2 separate regions of the Homo sapiens genome follow, and region 1 is linked to region 2. The links are contacts of gene promoters, found by promoter capture Hi-C in blood cells and fetal thymus (Javierre and others, 2016). All regions are on one chromosome and are shown on one strand. The core of a region is centred on a gene start or on the middle of the fragment in contact, and the rest is flanking DNA. Distances in the headings are between cores, read along the strand shown. Region 1 overlaps RPP30 (ribonuclease P/MRP subunit p30). Region 2 holds the start of BTAF1 (B-TFIID TATA-box binding protein associated factor 1).

Evidence for each region. The method cuts DNA at HindIII sites, captures the fragments that hold promoters and counts their contacts. A CHiCAGO score of 5 or more calls a contact.
Region 1: a fragment that was not itself captured here is called in contact with the fragment with the promoter of BTAF1 in region 2 in 3 of 17 cell types (total CD4 T cells, fetal thymus and total CD8 T cells); the score reaches 8.8 in total CD4 T cells.

Annotation. Positions count from the first base shown.
Region 1 is chr10:90,888,510-90,892,078 of GRCh38, forward strand. All of the region lies in intron 6 of RPP30 (ribonuclease P/MRP subunit p30), which reads left to right. Among named protein-coding and RNA genes, the nearest start is that of RPP30, 18 kb to the left of the region's middle. The HindIII fragment of the contact is 236 bases long and covers 1,639-1,874 here.
Region 2 is chr10:91,922,036-91,925,231 of GRCh38, forward strand. BTAF1 (B-TFIID TATA-box binding protein associated factor 1) reads left to right here and starts at 1,735. Exons shown (of 38, transcript NM_003972.3): 1 at 1,735-2,055. The coding sequence starts at 2,042. RefSeq lists enhancers at 477-1,010, 1,358-1,467, 2,078-2,277 and a silencer at 1,718-2,017. The HindIII fragment of the contact is 1,276 bases long and covers 1,516-2,791 here.

The DNA.
Region 1 (3,569 bases), core at 507-3,006, 1.0 Mb before region 2:
CCTTACAGTTTGTTGAGTCAATAAGTACATGTTGAACTTAGCATATCAGGGTACAGCATAGGGGACCTGGCCAAATTCTGCTCGTTGTTAGTCACCAGCTGGATGTCCACATTCATCAGGAAGTATATGCCGTGAGGGAAGTGGGGCAGTGGGGCAACATGAGGAGGACAGTGGCACTCAAGACAGTTGACACCAGGACACCCCACCCCCTGATTCCATTGGGAAGTTCAGGAAAGCTCCTTTCGTTTGATGGGCATTTTTCGCTTAATTCCTACATTTTTCAATTTAAGAATTCTGAAAAGTAAAAAATTCTGTCAAGTGAGAGGGATATGCAGTTTAACATGGTGTCTGCTTTAAAAAAAATCTGGTGTGAACATTTTGCATATGTTGTTTAATAAAAACTAGATGATGGAGTGGAAAGAAAGGCTGCACAAGATTATTTTTAGTCTTCATCTAGTAGAAGAGTAGGCTGCACTGTGAATTGGTCAGGAAGCAGAAGAGTCCCTGTTAATTTATTCACCTATTTTTTATTAAAGAGAGAAAGTTGGAAACATACAGGTGTCTAGCTTGTTGTTCAGAGTAAATAATAGTTGTGGCATAGGTATGTATGTATTATTTGTAACATAATATCCAGTCTGGCTGTGGAGCTGTTTGTCTACATAAAGTATGGAAATGTATACATTGTGAGAGCACAGTCTTGGTCCTTGCATGTTCCCTTGGCTTTGAGTGTAAACTTGTTTTTGGCCTTGAGAAGTTCATAGATTGGCTTTAAAAGGATCACTTTATAAGGATTACTTTTTTTTTTTTTTTTTTTTTTGAGACAGAGTCTCGCTCTGTCCACCCACGCTGGAGTGCAGTGGTGTGATCTCGGCTCACTGCAGCCTCCGCCTCCTCAGTTCAAGCAATTCTCCTGTCTCAGCCTCCCAAGTAGCTGGGATTACAGACATCCGCCACCACAGCTGGCTAATTTTTTTTTTATTTTTAATAGAGTTGGGGTTTCATCATGTTGGCCAGGCTGGTTTTGAACTCCTGACCTCAAGTGATCCACCCGCCTCGGCCAGGATACTTTAAATTAAGCACAGATCTTAATTTTGTCACGATGTGGGCCCTTTTCTTTGGTTGTGGTGAAAAGCAGTATTAAGAAAGGTAAATCATTCATCTTTTACCAATAGGCCAGATGCCATGTGAGAATCATCAGCTTGGAAGGTTGGGATTGTGAAGGAGGGCCCAGGAGCTCTATAGCATACCAAACACTCCATTTGTGTACTTTGCAGCTCTTTTCCCTTTTGTCATCTTCACTGTATGCTTAGGGCACCATAATTTCAATTATGCAATTTCCTCTAAAATCTCCCACAAACCTCTTCTGGAGTCTAAGTAACTTGTCATCGCATTTCTGTCATGTGATAGATGTGTTTCTAAAAAATTGGATTCCACTCCTTTTCTTGAATAATCACATGACTTCAGATTATTTAGCATTTTATGACATAAGCAGTTTGATACCTGCTTTGGCCCAGCAGTTTTGGGATGGGGTAGATGTTAATTATCTCCATATGCAGGTAATACAGTAGAATCTTAGGTAGTTCATGGTTCACACAGTTAAATGACTCTCTCAAGGGGTTGACAAGGGATTTGTACTCAAGCTTTGATTCCAAATCTGCTGTTATTTCCTACTGGGAAATGCTTTTTAAAGTTACTTTACAGCAGAACTCTTTGTTAAGCACAGAGTAATTTCATATTTTAAAACATGAGCTTTATGAATTCAGGTTGTGAGAAGAAGGATGTTCTTAAAACAGCACGTATCTCTTTACTTTCCCTTTGATTTTTTTACAATGTTATTTCCATTTCAATGTTATTGTCACTTAACAATGACTTCAAGCTTATTGAGTTATTTTAAGGGATCTTATATGTTTTACACTCTCTCTGATGTTTTCCCCTCAGTCCTTCCTTTAACCCTAATCCATTTCTGTCTTCGTGGTCCGATTACTCCCCACTGAGAGATGTTTAGTAAGTAGTATCTAAACAGTGAGGTAGTTCCATGAATCATGCTATAAATACTTGATTTGGATGTGAGTGTTCTGTAAACTTTGTTTTATCACACATGAATCTAATGTGTTAAGTACTGTGTCCATTCAGTGCCAGCAAATTGTGCCAGTATTAAAAATTTCTGTGGAAAAAAAAAATGCAAACAACACCAGAAACAAGGTTAAAAGACAGATGACAAACTGATGGAAAATTTTCACTCATGTCATAGACAAAATGCTTATTCCCTTAACACATAAAGACCAAAGAGTGCCTAGAAATTAATAAGTTAAAAAAAAAGATGAACAATACCAAAAAATGGATTAAGAATATGAAAAAGGCATTTCACAGTAAAGGAAATGCAAACAGGCCTTAGACATATGAAAAGATGATTAAATTTATCATAGTAAGAGATTTCACATTAAAATCACCTGTGTGATTAGAGATACACTCTGTTGTAAGGCTGCAGGAAAGCAGACATTCTCATATTTTGCTCGTAACTGTGTAAATGAGAACAGTCCCTATGCGGAGAGTGGGTAATTTGGCAACAACTATTCAAATTACAAATACGTTTACTGATTTAAACAACAGTTTTAAACTGTATGATCTCACAGTTCTGAAGCCTGCAAGTCTGAAATCAAGGTGTCAGCATGGTCTTGTTCCCTCTGAAATCTATAGGACCACCTTCCTTGCCTCTTTTTAGCTTTTGGTGATTTTCTGGCAATCTTTGGTAATCCTGGGCTTGCAGCTACGTAACTCCAGTCTCTGCCTTTGTCTTCAGTGTGTTCTCCCTGTTTGTCTCTATGTCTTCACATGGCCATCGTCTCATAAGACACCAGTCATATTGGATTAGGGGCCTACCCTATTCCAATCTGACTTCATCTTAACTAATTACATCTACAGTGACCCTATTTCCAAATATAAGATTACATTCTGAGGTACTGAGGTTTAGGGCTTCATTGTATCTTTTGTGGATGAGGACGCAATTCAACCCATTATGCCTAGCAATCCCACTTTAGTGTTATTCTACAGATACACTGAAACCACCCAAAGGCTCTCAGTAGAGGTTTGGTTAAATACATGCTATACCTCTACAATATGATACTCTACAACTGTAAAACAGAGGAAGTTATGAGCTGACTTGGAAGAGCTTTCATGTCAGGACAACAATGCAGCAGACTACCTTTTGGATAGGAAAGAAAAATAGTATCTCTTCGTATTTGCTTATAGTTGTATGAAGAAACTCTGGAAGAAGACACAAGAAATTAATAAAAGTGATTATTGGAGGAAGGGATAGGGCAGATAGGATTGGAGATGCAAGTAGTACTTTTTATTGTTTTCTTATGTTGCTTTGTGAGTCATGTGGACAAATTACCTGTCTTAAACACTGAAAGGGTTTCATTCATTTGAATTGAATAAAGAACTAATTTTTATGAAATTAACAGGGAATCAGTATATTGTCCCAGTAATCAGCTCCTTACTTTCTTCTCGTCTTTCTCTAAGGCTTTGCTTAATACTTGGAATTTTAGTACCAATGTATCTTGATTCAA
Region 2 (3,196 bases), core at 485-2,984:
ATATATTTTCAATGTTTATCTATTTTCTTTTTCCTTTCCTTTTAATGTAAATTCAACCAGAGTAGGCACCTTGTCTGTTCTGGTTTCTTCAGAAGTTCCAGTCTCTCATATGGTAGGTGCTTAATTTTGGCTAAATGATTGCTGTACACGATCAGTAAAAAGTATCTGCTTGTTATTGAATGGTGGGAGATAAACTGATGAGGCAAGTAGGTGACTAAAGTGAAAATGTAAAGATATCTTGAACATCAACTTGATTAGATTTTAATAGCATGAACACCGCCAAGCAGAGTTTCTGATACAGAGAGGTGACAAACATTTGTTGAATGACTGGACAATAAATATTATTACTAGCTTGAATCTTGAGGCAAATTACTTAACCTTTCTGAGCTTAGTTTCCTTGTCTACGAAGATTAAAACTAACTTTTCAAGGCTTCCCTACAAATTATATGGATAATGCATGTCATGTGCCCAGCACACAGCAGGTACTTGTTAGTTTCTTTCTCTTTACATACATATATACTACTTTATGGTTTACAAAGTTCTTGTAAGCTCTTCTAGATTCATGACCTCATTTTATTCCCACAATCTTCTGCAGTACTTCTCATTAGCCTCATTTTACAGATGAAAAACAGACTCAAGGATTGAGACATAGCCTCTTCAGGTAATGAGAAGCCAATGGACATGCTTTATAAGCATAGGAGCGACATGATAAAAAGCAGTGAGGTTTTTTGAAGATTAATCTGTTGGCCTATAAAATGGGCTGAACTGAAAATTGGAGAAATATTATTTTGACTACTAGCATAAAAATCAAGTTTAAGGGCCGGGCGCAGTGGCTCACACCTGTAATCCCAGCACTTTGGGAGGCCGAGGCGGGCAGATCACTTGAGGCCAGGAGCAGGAGACAAGCCTGGCCTACATGGCGAAACCCCGTCTCTACTAAAAAATACAAAAAATTGGCCCGGCGTGGGGCTCGTGTGCCTCCCAGCTACTCGGGAGGTTGAGGCACATTTAGAATCGCTTGAACCCGGTAAGCGCAGGTTGGCAGTGAGCCGAGATCGCGCCACTGCACTCCAGCCTGGGCGACAGAGCGAAACTCGGTCAAAAAAAAAAAATCAAGTGTAAGATGATAAGGGCCTGGCAGAAGTGTTTAAAAGCCTAATGAACTTAAAAATATTGAAAAGCCAGATAAGTCCCCCAAAGGAACAAAAATTTAAAAATGGTAGTTTTCAAATCTGGCTGGCTGAGAAAATGATGGTACAAACAACATAAACAATTGAGAAATCAAACTTGGCAAAATCGTTGGTCAGAAGACCTTCTCTCCAATACCTAGGCAGAACTTCTGGCAAATAATGACAAACATCTGAGCCATTTCTTCAGTGTCATAGCGACTTTTTGCTTTCACTCCTCCCACTGGCTTCACCACCTGGACAAGAGCATGTTAAGGTCCTTCTGATCTTGCTTCCTAGATGCAGTACGGTGGGAAGCAGAATCTGGGTAGTGTGGAATTAGAAACCAAGCTTTCGAAGTTCCAGGACTTGGACTAAATCGCCTTTTTCCTTCTCTGTCAAATAAGGGGACCCTTACTTCACCTCCTTCCCTAGTTTTAAGACTAGACACCCTCTCCACATCAGCACAAAGCGCTTTTATTTAGGCGCGTGCCGCCAAACCAAAGGCGCTCGCGCCGAGCTAAGCTCCTGTCGGTGAGCTTACGTCACTTCCGGCGCGCTGACGCTCAGTTGTGCGTGCCGACGCCCGCGTCAGCAAAGAGCGGAGCTGAGGGTACCCGGTTTGAAGTCGTGCGGGTCGGAGGACTGCCGCCTCCGCTACCGTCTTGGACCCCTGCTTACCGGCCGCCGCGGGGACGAGCTCGGGTAGGCGGCAGGGCAGATGCCCGAGGGCCTGCGCTGGAACGCCCCACGCCGCACCGGCCGCTCCCCTGTGCTCCGCGGCCTGGGCCTGCGCCGCTCAGCTCTCTGGAAACTAGCGCCTCAGCTGCGCGGCGCGTAGGTCGCGGGGAGCTCCGAACCGCCGGCGCCCGGCCATGGCGGTCTCCAGGTGGGTCTTGCTCCTGACGAGCAAACTGGAAGGCGATTCAGGGAAGGCATGGTCTCCTCTTAGAGCCCCCACTCCTAGAGAAGAGCGGTTCTCATTGTCACTGGGCTCTGGAGCTTTCTTCAGTAGACTTCGGAGTTCGCCCCGTGGTCGGCGGGGGTTTGGGCTCGGGTTACTCCTGGGTAAATCGGTTCAATAATGCCTTTTTCTTGTTAATAGACCCCTTGGCACGTTAGAGCTGTTTTTTCTCTTTCCTCACCATGTTTCTGTTCTCTGGTTTCTCTTCCCTCTTTCGATTCTAGGGGAGTCTCTTATCTTTCTCAGTATTCTAAGGCTGGTCCCTAACCTCCATTTCATGGGAAAACTTGGTAGTTACTGTCGATGGAGGGGAAACCTGAATTACTATTATCTAAGAGACCGTCTAATTATGTTACCAGTTTTAATTTACGTTTTTAGGGGTATGTTCTTTCCTGAGATGTTTTTTAAAATTAAGTATAATTTCTCCTTTTGTTTGGCAGTAAACATTCCAACGTCAGCGTTGTAACCTTAAGCCAATTATCGTATTAGCATCATTTTCCGTAACTAAGGCGTGGAAGATAAATCACAGATCTTATATTCTTTTGAAATATTGCCTGTCAACAGGAAAGCCCAGGAAAACTATAGAAAAACTAACGACATTTATTTGTATAGCTATAGGAGAAACATTACTTTTTCCTCCGGTATGATAGAATGGTTGGAAAGCTTTTGTAAGCGGAATTTGGTGACCCTCTGTACATGTAATTAAGGGATAGTTCCTCTGTGATAGTGATCGGATGGATTCACCAAGTTCCTTAGAGTTGATATGGTAACTTTTAATGAGAATTGGATTCTTTTACCATATAGACTGAAGGAATAAATGATGAAAACAAATAGTTTTCATTTTTTTATAATTAACTGAACACATTCTTTGAGCGTATTAAGTGCACAAGTTTTATCTGTTTTGCAAGGGAAAGGATAACCCATTCCTTACAGACTCCCTAGATGACTGATGAAATAGTGTGTGGGAGAAGCCCATGGGAGTTGGGTGAAGGGGGTTGCTAGGTACCGTAGTATGGGGCATCTGATTTTTATTTTATAATCTATTCAATGTGAGGAAATTTTTTTT